6 separate regions of the Homo sapiens genome follow, and regions 2, 3, 4, 5 and 6 are each linked to region 1. The links are contacts of gene promoters, found by promoter capture Hi-C in human tissues and cell types (Jung and others, 2019). All regions are on one chromosome and are shown on one strand. The core of a region is centred on a gene start or on the middle of the fragment in contact, and the rest is flanking DNA. Distances in the headings are between cores, read along the strand shown.

Region 1 (3,413 bases), core at 878-3,377:
GGACCCTAGGTCATTGCTGTGGCTTGAGAGTTAAAGATGTGACTACCCTGCTCCCCACCCCCACAACATCCAAGCCCATCAGTAAATGAGTAAGTGGTTCATCTACACACACACACACACACACACACACACACACACACAGCCCGAAGCGCAAGCTCTGGCCGTGCCACACACATGAAGACTGAAACACACATGGGTACATTCATCTAGTCACACACATTCACACCCACACTCTGACCCACACCATCATCCATGCAAACCCTCACACACTTAAACACATCCCCTCCCCAGAACCAAATTTGACCTAACATGGCTGATGGGGCGTGGGAGGGTCCAGTCAGGATGTCCCTCTGGACCCTGGCCCACTCACGCCCTGTGAACTCCAGGCCCCTTGCTCAAGGTGGAGCCCCCACCTGTCCCTGTCCTAGTGGTCACAGGTCCTGAACACCCCCACTCTCGGCCCCCGAAGGGGCCCTGGTCACCATCGCGTGCACAGAATCCTGGGTGCCTGGCTGGCCTTAGGGTAGGGGGTATGGGAAAAGGGAAAGATGTGGGGGCATAGTGCCCTGCCCTGGCTCAGCCGCCTCCTCCCTCGGGATTTTCCATCCCGGCTCGCGCGGGCCCGCTAGAAGCCGGTGCGCTTTGTCTCCCGCCCCGCTCCTGGCACGTTTCCGTGGAAGCTGCCCGCGCCGCGCCCGAAGCCCCCCCTCCGCGGCCGCGCCCCCCGCCCAGCCCGCGGCGCAGGCCTGCCAGTGCGGCGACCGCCGCTTTGTCCTCTCGAGGATGCCTGGGCCGAGCGCGAAAGCCCCATGCCTTGGAACAGCCACCGCGCGTCCTGGAAGCAGGTCCCCGAGCCTCGGTTTGGGGTGCGCCCTGCATCGGAGCGGAGCAGCCCCCAAAGATTCGCGGGCACGAGGTTGGGGGTAGCGTCTACCTGGAGCTCTTGAGTGCTTGAGGGGAGACCCGCCCCGTCCCGCTCTGTACATGCCCATCTGGGATTGGCCCCCAGCTGCGGTGCCAGAGGCTCGGTCCCCGGGGCGTGGTGGGCTAGGGCGGGTCGTCTCGACTTAGAGCCCCAGGCCTGGATCCAGGTAGGGAGGGCCTGGGAGATAAGGCCCAGGTGGGGAGAGGTGGGGAGGGGTCCCTCCTGTCCTCGTACATCCCCCTACACTACCTCTCACACCCAGGCCACCCAACCCTCGGCGCGGGCCCGAGCGCGGGGGATTCCGAGTGTCAGTGCTTTCCTCCACCCGCGACTCCGAGAAGGATGGGGAGGGGTCTCCCAGCGTTTCCCTGCCACATTCCAATTCCACCCTTCACCAGTAACCTAGGAGGGTCCAAGTGGGAGGGGTAAGAGTCCTCTGTCTCTTCCACATCCTCGATCCTCCTCTTTACAAAACCCTAGGGCCAAGGGAGGAGGGGGGAATAGGGAGGGGGGCGAGTGTGGAGGAAGGGGCCTGGGCAAGGGTCTTCCCTGCATCCCAAGCAGCCCTTCCTGAATACCCCTGGGAGGGTCTGGGCTAGGGGAGCGGTCCGCGATCTCATCCATCACCACCAGACTCCTTTGTAACCTCGAGCAGCCGAAGTGTTGCGGGGAGGGGTCCCCCTGCCTCGAGTCCCTTCATCCCACAACACCTCATCCTCCCGTCCTGAGTAATCCGAGCAGCCCCGTCGCCAGGCACAGCGGGAGGGAGGGTCCAAGCCTCCTCGCTCTCCCAGGAGAGATGGGGGGTGGGGGTGACCCCCAGCCCTCGCCCCTCATACCCAAGAGCCTTCTCCATGATAAAACGAAAACTAACCCAAGCTGCTCCGACCTCCGGCGCCCGGCCACGGGAGGCCCCTAGTCAGTCGGCGGCTGTCCGGGACCCGCGGTCCTGAGAGCAACGAGAACACGTCCCGTCAACTCCCCAGCCCCTCACGCCTCGGTTCGCCCGCTCCCCAAGAAAACAAAAGCGAATTCAGCAGCACTGACCTCTGACGGCGGGCGGGAGGGCGGTCAGCGCCCGGCAGCGCACCCCGCTCCTCCCGGCTCCTCACAGCCCGGGCTCCCGGCCGCAGATCTGGCGGCGGCCGCAGCGGCGGCGGCTCTCGCGGCTCTCGGGTCCGGAGCCTCCCTCAGACTCAGCACCTGGAGCGGCGAACAGCTCCGCGCTTCATTCCTCTGACCCCGCCTCCCTCGCGCCGCCGGAGCCAATGGTGACCCGGACCCCGCCCAGGAGTCTGCCCATTGGGGGCGTCCTCCCCTCTCCCTCCGGCCCCGCCCGCAGGTTCCTGGGTCTCTCCTTCAAGACCACATCCCCCAGAGACCGGCGGAGTTTCGCACAGCCTTCTGGGACTTATAGTTCTTTAAGGACGCGGAGTGGGCTCACGCCGCGGGTAGGCAAACAGAGCGGGACTGCATTTCCCAGAGTGCACTGAAGACACGGAGGCGCGGAGCAGGGCGGGAGGACCGTTTCCATAGCAAAGACGACCAGCCGAGGATGGCTGGCGGAGGCGTGGGGCAGGCCGCAGGACCCTCGAAGGATCGTGTGAGACCCCGGGCAGCCTCTTGGGAGGCCATTTCGAGGAGAAAACCTTGATTTCTGCCTCAGGACCCTGGGCCTCAGTTTTCCTATCTGAGAAGAAGGGCGAAGAGCTGTGCCCCCGACCACACCCGTCGGTGATGGGGCAAACCGAGGGCAAGCAGGTTTGGTTCCTGCCCAGCAAAGGTGAGGGAGGACGGAGGAGACTCTCCCACCGCATTCAGAACTTTATTCCTTTATTTTTGTCTCAATCTTGTCATAGAGGAGCGCTTCACTTTTGGTCATCCCTTGGGCCACCAGGGCCTTCCCGTCTCCGTCTTCCCATCGCAGGTCCTGGCCTCCTTCACACCACTCCAGGATACCGCAGCATCTCCCCCAGCGCAGCAGACGGAGGGCGCTTCACATGCCCCCGGACCTAAGCCCACTCTCCCCTTCAAGATCTGGACTCCACTTTTTTGCAACACTCTTAACTTCTTTGGAAGCTGGGAAGCCTCCTACTCCCTTGGGCCTCTCCACCCTGCCCTCAGCTAACTCGTCGGCAAGCCCCAGCCTAGACATTGCCTGTTTTGTGAAGACATCTAGATGCTGGGCTGTCTGTTGAGTGCCCCACCCTGTGTTTGAGCAGCACCCTCTACTTCCCCTGTTCTACTTGCATGTTTATGTGCTCGTCTTCCTCATTATAAGATCCACAGGGGAGGGGCCATGTCTATATTATTCATACTTACAGTCCAGTGTCTAGTATCTGGCACGTAGTAGGCACTCACTAGCTATTGAGATATAAATATAGATATTTGTTGAATTGAAAATGAATTGGGCCGGGCGTGGTGGCTCACGCCTGTAATCCCAGAACTTTGGGAGGCCGAGGCAGGTGGATCACTAGGTCAGGAGTTC
Region 2 (3,478 bases), core at 276-2,775, 500 kb after region 1:
AGATCTGTTGTATTTCTGGTGCCAATAAATGACATTTAAAAATAGCTTACCTTGGCCAGGCATGATGGCTCACACCTGTAATCCCAGCACTTTGGGAGGCCGAGGCAGGCAGATCACTAGAGGTCAGGAGTTTCAGACCAGCCTGGCCAACATAGTGAAACTTTGTCTCCACTAAAAAGACAAAAATTAGCCGGGCATGATTGTCAGTGCCTGTAATCCCAGCTACTTGGGAGGCTGAGGCAGGAGAATCGCTTGAACCCGGGAAGCAGAGGTTGCAGTGAGCCGAGATTGCACCATTGCACTTTAGCTTGGGAGATGAGCGAAACTCTGTCTCAAAGAAAAAAAAAAAAAGCTTACTTTAAAATAATACAAATTATGAGGATGTGAAGAAATGTTGCCGGTAGAAATGTAAAATGGTACAGTTGCTTTGAAAAATAGTCTGGCCATTTTCAAAAGGTTAAACATGGTTATCATGTGACCTATCAGTTCCACTCCTAGGTATATACCCATGAGAAATGAAAACATATGTCCACACAAAAGTTTATATTTATATATATATATAGGCATTATTTATAATAGCTGAAAAATTGAAACAACATACATATTAATATCTACCGCCTGATGAATGGATTCATAACATCTGATGTATGTACACAGTGGAATATTATTTGGCAGTAAAAAGGAATGAACTATTGATTCATACTGCAACATGAATGAATTTGAAAATATGGTAAGGAAAAGAAGCCAGACACAAAAGGCCATGTGTTGTATGATTCCTATATGAATGAAATGTCCAAAACAGACAAATGTATAAATTCAGAAAGTAGAGTAATAGTTGTCAGAGGATGTGGGGGATGGAGGAGTAAGGAGTGACTGATAATGGATATGAGGTTTCTTTGTGAGGAGATGAAAATGTTTTGGAATTAGATAGTGGGGATTATTGCACAGCCTGGTAAATATACCAAAACTAACTGAATTGTACACTTAAAAAAATTAAAGGCCACACGTGGTGGCTCATGCCTGTAATCCCAACACTTTGGGAGGCCGAGGCAAGCAGATCACCTGAGGTCAGGAGTTTGAAACCAGCCTGGTCCTACATGGTGAAACCCCATCTCTACGAAAAATACGAAATTAGCTGGGCATAGTATGGGTTCCTATAATCCCAGCTACTCTGGAGGCTGAGGCAGGAGAATCGCTTGAACCTGGGAGGCGGAGGTTGCAGTGAGCCGAGATCGAGCCACTGTATTCCAGCCTGGGCGACAGAGCGAGACTCTGTTTTAAAAAAAAAATTTAGGATGGGCGCGGTGGCTCACACCTGTAGTCCCAGCACTTTGGGAGGCTGAGGTGGGTCGATCACGAGTTCAGGAGTTCGAGACCAGCTTGGCCAACATGGTGAAACCCCATCTCTACTAAAAGTACTAAAATTAGCCAGGTGTGGTGGCGGGCACCTGTGATCCCAGCTGCTCAGGAGGCTGAGGCAGGAGAATCGCTTGAGCCTGGGAGGCGGAGGTTGCAGTGAGCTGATGTGGCACCGTTGCACTCCAGCCTGGGCAATAGAGCAAGACTCTGTCTCAAAAAAAAAGTAAATTTAAAAAATTTAAAAATAACGTTAAAAACTCAGAACAGTACTGTTGTTTTTTGTGGAGCTCTCAGGACTATGAAAGATGGGTGGGCAGGATTTAGACACTCAAATGAGTGTGAGGGGATTGAAGCTGAGGGAAAAGCAAAGGTAGGAAGATGTTCAAGAGTGGGGCCAGACCAGGTGCTGTGGCTGCTGCCTGTAATCCCAGCACTTTGGGAGGTCGATGTGGACGATCACTTGAGCCCAGTAGTTTAAGACCAGCCTGGACAACATGGCAAAATCCTGTCTCTATAAAAATTTTAAAAATTAGCCGGGTGTGGTAGCGCATGCCTATAGTCCCAGCTACTCTGGAGGCTGAAGTGGGAGAATCACTTGAGCCCAAGAGGTCAAGACTGCAGCAAGCTGTGATCATACAACTGCACTCCAGCCTGGGTGACAGAGACCCTGTCTCAAAAAAAAAAGGCAGGGTGGGGGGGTTGGGCAAATATAAAGTATAACAGAAGGGAAGCAGTTCAGGTTGTTAGTGGAGCAAAATGGGCATGAAGGCAAGGTATAGGAGTCAGTATCTTCATCTCCCATTTTTCAGACAAAGAAACCAGGGCTAAGAGGCCAACTGCTTGGCCAACCAGTATGTAATAGAGGCTGGATTCAACTCCAAAGCCAAGGCCCTTATTTATGCCTCTGTACTTCCTTCCTTTTTCCATTGCATTTTCTCACCTTTGTCACAACACCATGGCCTCTGTTCTTTTTTTTTTTTTTTTTTGAGACAGAGTCTCGCTCTATCGCCTAAGCTAGAGTGCAGTGGCGTGATCTCAGCTCACTGCAAGCTCTGCCTTCCCGGTTCACACCATTCTCCTGCCTCAGCCTCCTGAGTAGCTGGGACTACAGGCACCCGCCACCACGCCCAGCTAATTTTTTGTATTTTTAGTAGAGACGAGGTTTCACCGTGTTAGCTAGGATGGTCTCGATCTCCTGACCTTGTGATCCACCCGCCTCGGCCTCCCAAAGTGCTGAGATTACAGGCGTGAGCCACCACACCTGGCCAGCCTCTGCTCTTACGGATGGTAAAATTAAACCATGGAACCATGGATCATGACATTTTCAGTGAAGCAATTAAATACTTCTTAATTTCATGGCTTCTGGGGCTCCTTTAAAGTCCCTCACCTCCTATTCATATAGACTAGCTGTCACAAAGGCAGGATTCATGACCAAGAAGGCAACATGAGATACCTCCAGGTAAAGAGTCAGTTGCTTAAATGTCCACTTTACAAGCTATTAAGGAGGTCTAAGTACCTTCCCTGCAGAACAGCGATTTAAATTTTGCCCTGGAGCCACCCTTTCTCTAGTAAAGTTGGAATTTGAAGGCAAGTTAAGGAGGATGGAGTAGTGAGAGAGCTTGTAAGTAAAACAGCAAGTCCCTCTTCAGACTTCCCCTTAAATACAGCATCCCACACTCTCTAAGTAATCCATGGTTTTTACTGGAGCTTTATTGCAGTATCAGCTAGAGGTGCACCCTGCTTTTGTGTTTCCCTCCCCAACTAAAGAGCAAGCAGCCTATGTCACCCTTCATCTCAAATACAAATTAAAATTCCTAATCTCACCAGATGTGATTAAGATGATACTTGAAGCTGTTCACACACTTAGTAAGCCCAATTATATTTTTTATTAACACTGACATAGTTCCTTTTGTTGGTGAATCATAACTTTACAATTTTTAACTGAATGAAGCATCAATTACCCCCTCTCAGGTCACGTTGAGAACTTGGCAGTGGTGGAAGGTAAACTTAAATGGTGTCTGTACAGTTTGGGCAACACATTTTTAGATTTTTACATTAGGCTTTTGTGCTTCCTGACCTTGTGGTATCTCTCCTGCCCCAGAGGAGGATTGAAGGTTGG
Region 3 (3,088 bases), core at 109-2,608, 360 kb after region 1:
GCTGGGACCACAGGGTGCACCACCATGCCCAGCTAATTTTTTTTTTTTTTTTTTTTTTTGTAGAGATAGGGTTTCACTTTGTTGCGCAGGCTCAAAATCTCTAAATTTGTGTAAGAATAGATCTTAGTCTCTAGTCCTTTCATCTTATTTGGGTGAGTTTTCTCAGTCTGGCATCCTTCCTTTCTTTTCTTTTTACTTTTCTTTTCTTCTTCTTCCATTTCCCTTCCTTTTGTGTTTTTAGTACAGATGGGGTTTTACCATGTTGGCCAGGCTGGTCTTGAACTCCTGACCTCAAGCAGTCCACCTGCCTTGGCCTCCCAAAGTGCTGGGATTATAGGCGTGAGCCACCGTGCCCCACCTGGTATCCTATTTTTCTGAGGGATCACTTCCACGTGCAGTGTTTTCAGGCATGACTCCCTTTCATTTAACACATGAAAATGTTAGTGTGATGTTTTGCCAGCACAGTGTTCATCATTATTCATTCTCTGAAAATATTCCACAGTCCTGGTGTCAGCAAGGCATGCATGTTCCTTTCCTTTCATTGTGATAACTGGGTTTGCATTCATCCATCAGTGCCCATGTGCTCACCATGGCTGTGCAAGGTGGCCAGTTTTTGTTGTTGTTTTGTTTGTTTGTTTTTGTTTCTTTTTTGAGATGCAGTTTCACTCTTGTCACCCAGGCTAGAGTGCAATGGCACAATCTCAGCTCACTGCAACCTCCACCTCCTGGGTTCAAGCAATTCTTCTGCCTCAGCCTTCTGAGTAGCTGGGATTACAGGTGTGCACCACCACACCCAGCTAATTTTTGTATTATTAGTAGAAACAGGATTTCACCATGTTGGCCAGGCTGGTCTTGAGCTCACCTCAGGTGATCCACCCGCCTCAGCCTCCCAAAGGAAAAAGCCTGCTGGGATTACAGGCATGAGCCACCAGGCCTGGCCAAGGTGGCTGTTTTAAGGCTTAGGATACAGTGGTTTTTCTGGGATTGGTTTTTGTTTTTGTTTTTGAGACAGAGTCTCGCTCTGTTTCCCAGGTTGGAGTGCAGTGACACAATCTCGGCTCACTACAACTTCTGCCTCCCAGATTCAAGCTATTTTCTTGCCTCAGCCTCCTGAGTAGCTTGAATTACAGGCACATGCCACCATGCCTGGCTAATTTTTGTATATTTATTTATTTATTTATTTATTTATTTATTTATTTATTTATTTTTGAGACAGAATCTCTCTCTGTCATCCAGGCTGGAGTGCAGTGGCATGATCTCAGCTCACTGCAACCTCTGCCTCCCGGGTTCAAGCAATTCTCACGCCTCAGCCTCCCAAGTAGTTGGGACCCCGTGTGTGCCACCATGCCCGGCTAATTTTTGTATTTTTAGTAGAGGCAGGGTTTTGGCACGTTGGCCAAGCTGATCCCAAACTCCTGACCTCAAGTGATCTGCCTGCCTTAGCCTCCCAAAGTGCTGGGATTACAGGTGTGAGCCACCACGCCTGGCCCAGGATACAGTGATGATGGTCAGTTTTTTATTTTGTTCATGTGCTGGGGTCAAATCTCAATAAAACCATAACTCAGTGTTTTCCAACCAGTCCAACCATCATCTCCATCATTACCTTTATTGAGCACTTACTATGTTTCAGGCAGTATTCACAGTGCTTTAAATGTGCAATACCAGCATCTCATTTAATCCTTCCAAGAATTATATGAGATAGGTTCTAATATTATCCCCATTTCAGACATTAGGAAGCTGTAATACAGAGAAATTAAGTAATATCTGCCTGGGGCAAGGAGGTACTGTCATGAGGATTCAAAGCCAGGCAGTCTAGCTCCAGAGCCTGCCCTTGGCGCAGGCTGGGCTGCCTCTCTAGGAGACAAACACAGGATGTAGAGGGCAGAGAGCATAGGTGTGTGCGCATGTGTGCACATGTGGCCAGTGTGCAGCATTGGGGAAGGGCTCTGTGATGATACCTGGTCATATCTCACATGTATCTGGTGCATCTTCAATCTTAAAGCCAGAAAATAGAGCTGAACTCAAACTTGGCAAGCAGTGATCAGTGACTGTGAGTTTTTATGTGGAGGGTGAGAGATGGAATTTTCCCCTGGAAACTTTACTGTGTTACCAGTAATCACCTTAAAACACTTAAACAATTTGGCAAATATTTTCCTTCCATTTTCAACTCTCTTATTTCCCTGCATGTGCATAAAGTTATCTTTATTGCATATGAAAACTGTTCAATACAAGTCTCAAAGGGTGTTTTTGGCTTCCATCCCAACAGCTTCTGTTAGAACAAATGGAAACCATATAGACATAATGATACAGTGAGATGAAGAGATTTATATTGATCACAAAGTAGTTCTTAGTACAAGTTCTCAAAATCTACTTGTTTTGGGATAACTCCACGTTGAGGACCTGTGTCCCCAAGAAAAATATAAAAGAGGCTGGGTGCGGTGACTCACACCTGTAATCCCAGCAAATTGGGAAGCCAAAGCAGGAGAATCGCTTGAGCCCAGGAGTTCGAGACCAGTCTGGGCAAGATGGCAAGACCCTGCCTCTAAAAAAATTTAAAAAATTTAAAAAATTAGGTGCACATGGTGGTGCATGGTGGTGGATGCCTGTAGTTCCAGCTACTTGGTAGGCTGAGGTCAGAGGCTTGCCTGAGCTCAGGAGTTCAAGGCTGCAGTGAGCTTTGATCACTTCACTGCACTCCAGCCTGGGTGACAGAGCAAGACCCTGTCTCTATTTAAAAAAAGAAAAGAAAAGAAATCGAAAACCCAAATATTCAGTTGTTGAGTAAGCTCTGATATTAAATCATCAGAGTATAATGTTGCTGTTAAAAATTATATTATGGGCTGGGTGTGGTGGCTCATGCCTGTAATCCCAGCATTTTGGGAGGCCACATTGCTTAAGCTTACAAGTTCGAGACCAGCCTGGGTAACATGGCAAAGCCCTACGTCTACTAAAAATACAAAAATTAGTCAGCCATGGTGGTGCACACCTGTAGTCCCAGCTACTCAGGAGGCTGAGATGGGAGGGATGGCTTGAGCCTGGGAGGCAGAGGTTCCAGTGAGACAAGATCTTGCCGCTGTACCCCAGCCTC
Region 4 (3,393 bases), core at 346-2,845, 310 kb after region 1:
CATGCCCGGCCAGGCCAGGCATTTTCTAGAGAAGGAATCCTGAGGGCTCATTTTCACATCTCCTTCATTTTTTATTTATTTATCTTTCTCTTTTGACCTGCCACTTTAGGAACATCTCCTTTAAAGGGTATCAGATTCAAACCAGGAAATAATGCTCATTCCAAGCCACTCCCCACCCCTCAGCATGTTGCCCAAGAGGAATATTGCTCCAGCAGAGTTTTCTAAATTTTTTTTTTTTTTTTTTTTGAGACAGAGTCTTGCTCTTGTTGCCCAGGCTAGAGTGCAGTGGCCTGATCTCGGCTCATTGCAACCTCTGCCTCCCGGGTTCAAGCGATTCTCCCACCTCAGCCTCCGGTGTAGCTGGGATTACAGGCATGTGCCACCACACCTGGCTACTTTTTGTATTTTTCGTAGAGACGGGGTTTCACCATGTTGGCCAGGCTGGTCTCCAACTCCTGACCTTAGGTGATAAGCCCTCCTCGGCCTCCCAAAGTGCTGGGATTACAGGCATGAATGAGCCACTGTGCCTAGCCGAGTTTTCTAAAGATTCTTCCTGCAGAGGGATGATATTTTCTAAACAGGCATCATTTAGGGCATATTTTTTTTTTTTTTTTGTGCATGTATACGAGTGTTCCTAGGACCTGGTACTTACTTTGGAATCTCACCTTCAGTACGAGGCTTCCTCCCCAACAAATTCTTCACCACAACTATGTGGGAGTGTTTGAAAAAGGGAACAAGATGACCAACTTGTTGGTGGGGAGAGTTGTGGCTTTCCTATTGGAAAACATCATCCCTTGAATAAGCAGTGAGGCAAACACCTGGGCACTTACTTTATGAACAGGTGGGGTGGGGCCCTGAGTCACCGACATTGAGAGGCCTCTCCTGGTAAGGTTTTTCAATATCAGGTTGAATCAGCGGTGACATCACCCTCTATAGTGACAGGTACTCTAGGTGCCGGCTCTTACTCATAAGTCCCAGGAGATACTAGCCCTAGATCTCGTCTCTGTTAGCTTCGTGCTAAAAGGTTTTGGAGAAATAACAGCTGCTTGGTGACGTTCATGTGGCTGGTTTCATTACCACCTAACTCCCAGGCTTGTAATCATGACTAAATTTTCTGGAGAAAATAGAATTTGTGGTTGTATTTCTTGTAACTTTTGCCTTCTTGTCTCAAGTCTGCATTTAAAAAGAGGCCGGGTGCGGTAGCTCATGCCTGTAATCCAGCACTTCGGGAGGCCAAAGTGGGAGGATTGCTTGAGCCCAGAAGTTGGAGACCAGATTGGGCAACAAAGGGAAACCCTGTCTCTACATACAAAAACAATTACCCAGGCATGGTGGCGTGTGCCTGTGATCCCAGCTTCATGGGAGGCTGAGGCAGGTAGATCCCTTGAGTCCAGGAGGTTAAGGCTGCAGTGAGCTGCGTTTTGCACCACTGCACTCCAGCTTGGGTGACAGAGCGAGACGCTCTCTCAAAAACAAAAAACAAAACAAAACAAAGCCCTCTTCTACTCCTTGAGGTTTTTGGATGTTTCAGAGCTGTATTTTGAGTCTCTGATTTTTGTTTTGTTTTGTTTTGAGACAGAGTCTTGCTCTGTCACCCAGGCTGGAGCGCAGTGTTGGAGTCTCAGCTCACTGCAACCTCCACCTCCCAGGTTCAAGCTATTCTCCTTCCTCAGCCTCCCGAGTAGCTGGGATTATAGGCCAGCGCCACCATGCCCGGCTAATTTTTGTATTTTTAGTAGAGACAGGGTTTCACCATGTTGGCCAGGCTGGTCCTGACCTCAAGTGATCCGCCCACCTTGGCCTCCCAAAGTGCTGGGATTACAGGTGTGAGCCATGGCAACCAGCTGAGTTTTTGATTTTGAAACTTCCTGTAAGTTGTACTTATTTTTCTTTGGGCTTTGTAATTTGGTTATGATTTTTCATTCTTCTTTCTGCTAATCCTCTCACTTCCACCATGGGAGTGTTTAAATACCTGGGAAGCTGTTGAACCTAGGAAACCACATTTTACTTGCCAGATGTGAGGTTTCATTTCTGGTTTTGACAGAGATTTGACTCTTCAGCATTTATTTCTCTTTTAGCCTATGAGCTTCTCTTAGAGAAGATGAACTGGGAGGGTGGAATGCAGCAGGATTGCCTGGATTCCAATCCCAACTGGACCCTTACTTTTCCTGTGATTTTGGGCAAGTTTCTTTCTCTTTCTTTCTTTCTCTCTCTCTTTTTCTTTCTCTCTCTCTCCTTCCTTCCTTCCTTCCTTCCTTTCTTTCTTTCTTTTTTTTGAGACAGGGCCTTTTTCTGTCACCCAGGCTGGAGTGGAGTGGTACAATTTTGGCTCACTGCAACCTCTGCCTCCTGGGCTCAAGTCATCCCCATCCTCCCACCTCAGCCTCCCAAGTAGCTGGGACTACAGGTGCATGCCACCACTCCAGGCTAATCTTTTTTTTTTTTTTTTTTGTATTTTTTGTAGAGACGAGGTTTTGCCATGTTGCCCAGGCTGGTTTTGAACTCCTGAGCTCAAGCCATCTGCCCGCCTCAGCCTCCCAAAGTGCTGGGATTACGGATGTGAGTTGCTGCACTGGCCTGCAAGTTTCTTTCTTTTTTTTCAAATTTTTTTGTGTCCCTCCCCTCTATCCCAACCCCACCCCATTTTGCCTAGGGTAGGCTTCTTTTTATTTCTTTTTTTTTTTTTTTTTTTTTTTTTTTGAGAGAGAGAGAGAGAGAGAGACCCAAATGGGAATTCCCTAGGGCCAGTTTCTTAATCTTTCTGTGCCTCAGTCCCCTCACCTGTACAAAGGGGATAAACATAGCCCCTACCACAAAGGATTGCAATGAGGATTCAATGAGTTAGCATGTGCGAAGTGCTTCCAGTGCCTGGTACGTAGCAACCACTCTTCATTTAGTTTTTATTGGCTGGGCTCCGTGGTACACATCTGTAGTCCTAGCTACTTGGGAGGTTGAGGCAGGAGGATCACTTGAGCCTGGGAGTTTCGAGGCTGCAGTGCATGCTGATTGTGCCCGTGAATAGTTACTGCTCTCCAACCTGGTCAATGTCTCAAGAATCGATCTCTAAAAAAACAAATTAGTTTTTCTCATTAGATGTTTCTGCTTTAGACTTGTGTCAAGGGAGTGAAAAAGCATGGGGCGGGGGGCGGGTAGTGTAAGTGTCAAAGGAGCCACAGAGGATTGAGTATGAGGAAGAGTGATACCCCCTTATCACTTTGCTCTTGACCTCCTAAAGAATAAGACGCTCCTTTGACCCAACATCCATTTGAGTGCAATTTTTTTTTTTTTTGAGATGGAGTCTTGCTCTGTTGCCCAGACTGGTGCCATCTCGGCTCACTGCAACTTCCGCCTCCCGGGTTCAAGCAATTCTCCTGCCTCAGCCTTCTGAGTAGC
Region 5 (3,207 bases), core at 663-3,162, 480 kb after region 1:
GCCACTGAGGCCGTCAGCATGGCTGCCCAAAGTACACTGAACAGAAAAGATCTGGAAGGGAAAATAGAAGAGCAGCAACAAACCAGTCATGAAAGACCCACTGATGTAGCTCATAGCCACCTTGAACAACAGCAGAGCCATGAGACAGCCCCCCAGACAGGCCTGCAGTCAAATGCTCCAATCATTCCTCAAGGAGTCAATGAGCCCAGCACTACTACAAGTCAGAAATCTGGAAGCGTAACCACAGAACAGCTCCAAGAGGTTCTTTTGTCAGCTTATGACCCTCAAATTCCAACACGGGCTGCTGCCCTGCGTACTCTTTCCCACTGGATAGAGCAGAGAGAAGCAAAAGCCCTTGAGATGCAAGAGAAGCTTCTCAAGGTGAGTAGAACACACTGTAAAGACACATGGGCACAGGGTGGGGCATTCATTCAACTCAAGTATTTTTGGAGCCTGGACTATGTGTCAAGTGCTGTTCTGGACCACCCTCCAGAAATTTGTGAATTTTGTGAGGAGGCAACACTTAGACACAGGAAAGATTTATTTAGACACAGGAAAGACTTAAACTCCTCAAATGAATATGAACTGAGTGCCAATTTTTTTTTTTTTTTTTTTTTTTTGAGATGGAATCTCGCTCTGTCCCCCAGGCTGGAGTGCAGTGGTGCAATCTCGGCTCACTGCAAGCTCCGCCTTCTGGGTTCACACCATTCTCCTGCCTCAGCCTCCCGAGTAGCTGGGACTACAGGTGTCTGCCACCACCCCCGGCTAATTTTTTGTATTTTTAGTAGAGACGGGCACCATGTTAGCCAGGATGGTCTCGATCTCCTGACCTCGTGATCCACCTGCCTCGGCCTCCCAAAGTGCTGGGATTACAGGCGTGAGCCACCACACCCATCCTTCAAAATTTTTGCATGCAAGAAATGCTGTGGGCAGTCAGGAAAAAGAGAAAGTTGAAATCTTCTGGAGGATGTAGGCCTTAATATGGCCATAACAAACTAGTAAAGTTTGAGCAGATGAAAGAGGGGTGGGATAGCTTGAACAAATTCCCAGAGATGGGAAAGTACCTTTTGTGATAAATAGGTCTGCTTCAACACTGTGACCCAGCCCAGATAAGCCACCTGTTTTCTCTGGGCATCTTTAGTGGGGCGTTGGGCAAAACTGGGTCTCCTCCCCTCTTCTCTCCCTTCATCGTGGTGAAATAGCTGTTTTTTGTTTTGTTTTGTTTTGTTTTTTTGAGACAGGGTCTCGCTCCGTCGCCCAGGCTGGAGTGCAGTGGTGCGATCTCAGCTCACTGCAATTTCCACCTCCTGGGTTCAAGTGATTCTTCTGCCTCAGCCTCCCAAGTAGCTGGGATTACAGGTGCCCACCAACACACCCAGCTAATTTTTGTACGTTTAGTTGAGATGAGGTTTCACCATGTTAGCCAAGCTGGTGTTGAACTCCTCACATCAAGTGATTCACCTGCCTCGGCCTCCCAAAGTGCTGGGATTACAGGCATGAGCCACCGCGCCTGGCCTTAAATATCCTTTTATACACCTATTTGAAGGTGAATTCAATGAACATCTTGGAATTTTTTTTAGCTTAATTAAACCTTCTTCTGCTGTACATAATTGGTCACCAAGTCCTGTCAATTCTTTTTTCAAAGAAGTCTTTCAAATGTATCTTATCCTCTTTATTTCCATGGCCATTACCCTAAATTAAGCTTCCCTTGCTTACTCCATAAAAGATTCCCTACCTTCAAAACTGGCCGTCTTCCTAACTGGGGTAATTTTAGGCTCTCCGTACATACTTCACATGTAGAGACCAGCAGCATCAAGTTGATGTCAAGAATTACTGTGCCAACGAAGAACACAGCATTATATATGGAGCAGACACTTCCGTCTTCCTTTCTCTGGCTCTCATGTTGGGGCCTAAACCTAACATATCATGTAATATCTTCCAGATAAGCTGTACTCACTGTAGTTGATACCCCTGATAGGTTCCTAAATTGTAAGATATTTTGAGAGTAATTTGTTACTAATATCAATTAAAGTGCTGAAATTTACAAGATTTTCAAAAATAAATTAGAACAGATTCAAAGTTATCTCAATAATAACATCTCTATCTCACTTGCACTTCCATATGCTTTGTGAGTACAAGAGAAAAGGATCAAATTGCAGCAAATGTGCCATCCATTGCACATAACCCCAAACCTTGTCTCTTGTGTGTCACACCCCGTAGTCTGTCATGCCATATGTGAGAATGTTATTCACCATGGCTGTCATGGAAAAATGTTGAGGATTGTTCTTCCATCGGTTTCCAGGACTACTGCTGGAAGAATACAAGTATCTCCCCCAGTCTCTATACTTTTTTAATGGTTATAAAAATGAGACTTAAGCATATATGCCATTTCCCCCACAAAACTCTGTCAGACCAGTTTCTACCCAAGAAAAACAAGAAGCGAAGCATTTACTCCTTTGAGCTGCTGATAAGGGAGCCTCTTAAATCTTCCTTGTTCTTTGTAAATCTTATCACTGCTGTATTTTGTGGTTCCAGATATTCTTGGAAAACTTGGAACATGAAGACACTTTTGTATATCTATCTGCAATTCAGGGTAAGTCAGTCCTGGTTAAAGGACTTTAAGTATGTGGACCAGAGACTGTATCATGTTTATTTGCACAAAATCTCTAAAGTCCTAGGGCCAGGAGACTACTGGTCATTTTGTCCGTCTTCCTGCCTCCTAGCTAGGACACTTTAAGTCATAATAATAATATTCCTGAAGGGTTTCCAAAGAGTCCCTATAGAGTTTCAGTGTCTCATAATGATGAGGAAGTTTTTATTAATGTTTACATATTCTGTAGATTAAATCGTATTTCCTCTAATTCAAGGAGGTAAAGAATGACTCACACATGAACTCTTATCACATTAACCTTTTATGTTAGTCGGCTACTGTCTTTTTTTTTTTTTTTTTTGAGACAGAGTCTCGCTCTGTCACCCAGGCTGGAGTGCGGTGGTGTGATCTCAGCTCACTGCAACCTCTGCCTCCCGGGTTCAAGTGATTCTCCTGCCTCAGCCTCCCAAGTAGCTGGGATTACAGGTGCCCGCCACCACGCCCAGCTAATTTTTTATATTTTTAGTAGAGACAAGGTTTCACCATGTTAGTCAGGCTGGACTCGAACTCCTGACCTCCAGTGATCCACCCACCTTGGCCTTCCAAAGTGCTGGGAT
Region 6 (3,218 bases), core at 336-2,835, 340 kb after region 1:
TGAGCTCTATTGGACAAGTGAGCACTTGTTGTACAGTCATCTGCAAGCACATGTGACCTGGAGACTGTGGGAAATGCCTCACTTCGCAGTGTTGGCTCCCAGCTGTTCTCTTGGGCTGTTTGAGTTTTGTTCCAAAGGTCAGAGGCAGAGGGTCCGAGCCTTTCCAGCACAGCCCACATTTGAAAGTAGTGCAAGCCTCACATTCATTCTTTGTAGAAGGTTTCCAGATCTTGTTCTTGAGTTATTGAATGATTCAAAGGTTCTGAATTCCACAACGGCTTTCCTGTGTTTTTGCAGCCAGATTCAGCACATTTTGGTGTCAGCCAGTGCTTGGAAAATGTGGCCCTAGATTGATGCGTGTTTATATCTGGGTTGTGTTTTTTATAGAGAATAAATCTGTGGTTACTTTTACCCATCCCACATTGCTGTTAACTACCCCTGGAATTTCTCTCCCTCCGCAAGCCTAGTGCTGAAGAACAGAAGCTTTGGTGCTGGCTGGTTCTGGGGCGAATGTTCCTTCAGAGGCTGACCTGCTCTGTGACCTTGACAAGGCCCTGACCTTGAGCAAATGACTTAAGCCTTTCGCCTCAGTTGCTCATCAGCATTAAGGGGGTTAAAAACCCCTACCTGCCTCACAGCAACATAGGAGTCAATGTAAAGTTCACAGTGCCCACACGTAATGACTGTCATAGTGAATATTTACTCTCAAAAAGATTTTTTGTTTTCAGTTTTTAGTTGTTGATTTTTTTTTTTTTTAAATAGAGATGGGATCCTACTATGTTGCCCAGGCTGGTCTCAAACTCCTGGCCTCAAGTGATCCTCCCACCTCAGCCTCCCAAAGTGCTGGGATTACAGGTGTGAACCACCATGCCCAGCCTATAACTATTGTTTTGTTTTGTTTTGTTTTTTGGAGATAGAGTCTTGCTTTATCATCCAGGCTGGAGTGCAATGGTGCAATCTCAGCTCACTGCAACCTCTGCCTCCTGGGTTCAAGCAGTTCTCCCACTTCAGCCTCCCAAGTAGCTGGGATTATAGACACCCACCACCACGCCCGGCTAATTTTTTTTTTTTTTTTTTTGAGACAGTTTCACTCTTGTTGCCCAGGCTGGAGTACAATGGCATGATCTTGGCTCACCGCAACCTCCGCCTCCTGGGTTCAAGCAATTCTCCTGCCTCAGCCTCCTGAATAGCTGGGATTATAGGCATGTGCCACCACGCCCCGCTAATTTTTTGTATTTTTAGTAGAGACGAGGTTTCACCATGTTGGCCAGGCCTGTCTTAAACTCCTGACCTCAAGTGATTCGCCCTCCTTGGCCTCCCAAAGTGCTGGGATTACAGGTGTGAGCCACCGCACCCAGCCTACTGTTAATTAAGAATTGTTTATGGCTTCTCTTCTCTGCACTTTTTCATAACCTTGGCATTTTTGGGTGCCTGGATTCTTTCATTTTTGAACCATAGGACTTTGACTGATGGGGTATTCCTCAAGAGACCCTAATAGCTATATATTTCTTACTGGTTCATTGAGATTTAATTTACATACCACACAATTTACCCACTGTAAGTGTACAGTTAGATAATTTTTATAAACGTACACAGCTGTTGAGCTGTCATCACAATCCAGTTTTAGAATACTTCCACCACCTCCCAAGTTCCCTTGGGCCTATTGGTAGTCAAGCCTAACTCAGCTCCAGACAACCCTTGATCTGCTTTTTGTCTCTAGTTTTCTAGATTTTTCATATGAACTGTGTACTTTGGTGAACAGCTTCTTTCACTCGGTGTAATGCTTTTAAGGTTCATCTATGCTACTGCGTTTTGTGATGTTTGATCCTTTTTATTGCTGAGTAGCTATACCATATTTTACCCATCCTAATTACTTTTTGGGTTGACTGTATATAAGCCACATTTACACATTTTTTTAAATGGGTAAATGTGAAATAAGAAGAAAGTTGGGGCTGGGCATGGTGGCTCACGCCTGTAATCTCAACACTTTTGGAGGCCGAGACGGGTGGATCACAAGATCAGGAGTTCAAGACCAGCCTGACCAACATGGAGAAACCCCATCTCTCCTAAAAAAAACAAAAAACAAAAATTAGCTGGGTATGGTGGCGGGCACCTGTAATCCCAGCTGCTTGGGAGGCTGAGGCAGGAGAGTCACTTGAACGCAGGAGGCGGAGGTTGCGGTAATCTGAGGTCATGCCACTGCACTCCAGCCTGGGTGACAGAGCAAGACTCTGTCTCAAAAAATGAATGAATAAATAAAAGAAAGTTGGACAGGAAGATCCGTTCTCACTGTGTCACCCAAGCTGGAGTGCAGTGGCCCGAACATGATTCTCTGCAGCCTTGACGTCCCCAGCTCAAGTGATCCTCCTACCTCAGCCCTCCCAAATAATGGGGACTACAGGTGCATGCCACCATGCCCAGCTAATTTTTTTTTGTATTTTTTGTAGAGATGGGCTCTCCCCATGTTGCCCAGGCTGGTCTTGACGGGACTTGGACTCAAGTGATCCGCCCACTTCAGCCTCCCCAAAGTGCTGGGATTATAGGTGTGAGCCACCGCACCTGGCCAGGTGTTTAAAAATAGAATAATGTCCAGAACCTAATTTTGGAGAACAGGATGTAAAGGGATGCAGGACAAGGGAGTAAATGAATTAGGAAAGGGATATAGACCAGGATCTGAAGGACACATATCAGGTGTTAGCAGTGGTCTCTCTGCAAGGATGGGCTTGTGAATACTTTGTGCGATTGGCTCATCTTTTTTTTTTTTTTGTAACAGCTTTATCGAAACATAATCCACATAGCATATATTACACCATTTAAAGTGTAGAATTTAACAGTTTCCCTTATAGTCACAGACTTAAGCAAGCGTCACCACAATCAATTTCATAACATTTTCATCACCTCCAGAAGAAATCCCTCACTCCTTAGTTGCTACTGCCCCAGCCCTGGACATCTGGATTCAGTTAGTCTGAGGCAGGGGCCCTGGCTGAGTATTTTTAAAAAGTGCCCCAGGAGGCTGGGCCCGGTGGCTCATGCCTGTAATCCCAGCACTTTGGGAGGCTGAGGCGGGCGGATCACATGATGTTGGGAGTTCGAGACCTGCCCGACCAACATGGAGAAACCCCATCTCTAAAACTACAAAATTAACCGGGCATGGTGGCGCATGCCTGTAATCCCATCTACTCGGGAGGCTGAGGCAGGAGAATCACTTGAACCCGGGA

Evidence for each region. The method cuts DNA at HindIII sites, captures the fragments that hold promoters and counts their contacts. A contact is called where the count stands out against the background at its distance.
Region 2: a contact is called between a fragment that was not itself captured here and the fragment with the promoter of SMPD3 in region 1, in 2 of the 25 tissues and cell types used here (IMR-90 fibroblasts and lymphoblastoid cells).
Region 3: a contact is called between a fragment that was not itself captured here and the fragment with the promoter of SMPD3 in region 1, in 1 of the 25 tissues and cell types used here (H1 embryonic stem cells).
Region 4: a fragment that was not itself captured here is called in contact with the fragment with the promoter of SMPD3 in region 1 in 1 of the 25 tissues and cell types used here (adrenal gland).
Region 5: a fragment that was not itself captured here is called in contact with the fragment with the promoter of SMPD3 in region 1 in 2 of the 25 tissues and cell types used here (heart left ventricle and pancreas).
Region 6: a fragment that was not itself captured here is called in contact with the fragment with the promoter of SMPD3 in region 1 in 1 of the 25 tissues and cell types used here (liver).

What each region holds. Positions count from the first base shown.
Region 1 is chr16:68,446,381-68,449,793 of GRCh38, forward strand. SMPD3 (sphingomyelin phosphodiesterase 3) reads right to left here and starts at 2,128. Exons shown (of 9, transcript NM_018667.4): 1 at 1,973-2,128. It overlaps LOC124903705 (a long non-coding RNA gene), which reads left to right and starts at 2,460. Exons shown (of 2, transcript XR_007065097.1): 1 at 2,460-2,686; 2 at 2,785-3,413. RefSeq lists a silencer at 1,826-2,345 and an enhancer at 2,446-2,495. The HindIII fragment of the contact is 13,014 bases long and covers 1-3,413 here.
Region 2 is chr16:68,949,286-68,952,763 of GRCh38, forward strand. All of the region lies in intron 14 of TANGO6 (transport and golgi organization 6 homolog), which reads left to right. Among named protein-coding and RNA genes, the nearest start is that of TANGO6, 110 kb to the left of the region's middle. The HindIII fragment of the contact is 4,454 bases long and covers 1-3,478 here.
Region 3 is chr16:68,804,961-68,808,048 of GRCh38, forward strand. The region is part of intron 3 of CDH1 (cadherin 1); the gene reads left to right. Among named protein-coding and RNA genes, the nearest start is that of TANGO6, 37 kb to the right of the region's middle. The HindIII fragment of the contact is 4,088 bases long and covers 1-3,088 here.
Region 4 is chr16:68,755,535-68,758,927 of GRCh38, forward strand. All of the region lies in intron 2 of CDH1 (cadherin 1), which reads left to right. Among named protein-coding and RNA genes, the nearest start is that of CDH1, 20 kb to the left of the region's middle. RefSeq lists enhancers at 993-1,137, 1,131-1,230, 1,722-1,866, 1,911-1,960, 3,203-3,347 and cis regulatory regions at 1,065, 1,794, 3,275. The HindIII fragment of the contact is 6,946 bases long and covers 1-3,393 here.
Region 5 is chr16:68,927,703-68,930,909 of GRCh38, forward strand. TANGO6 (transport and golgi organization 6 homolog) reads left to right here. Exons shown (of 18, transcript NM_024562.2): 13 at 1-381; 14 at 2,536-2,593. Among named protein-coding and RNA genes, the nearest start is that of TANGO6, 86 kb to the left of the region's middle. The HindIII fragment of the contact is 4,152 bases long and covers 1-3,207 here.
Region 6 is chr16:68,786,767-68,789,984 of GRCh38, forward strand. All of the region lies in intron 2 of CDH1 (cadherin 1), which reads left to right. Among named protein-coding and RNA genes, the nearest start is that of CDH1, 51 kb to the left of the region's middle. RefSeq lists an enhancer at 1-121 and a cis regulatory region at 49. The HindIII fragment of the contact is 3,553 bases long and covers 1-3,218 here.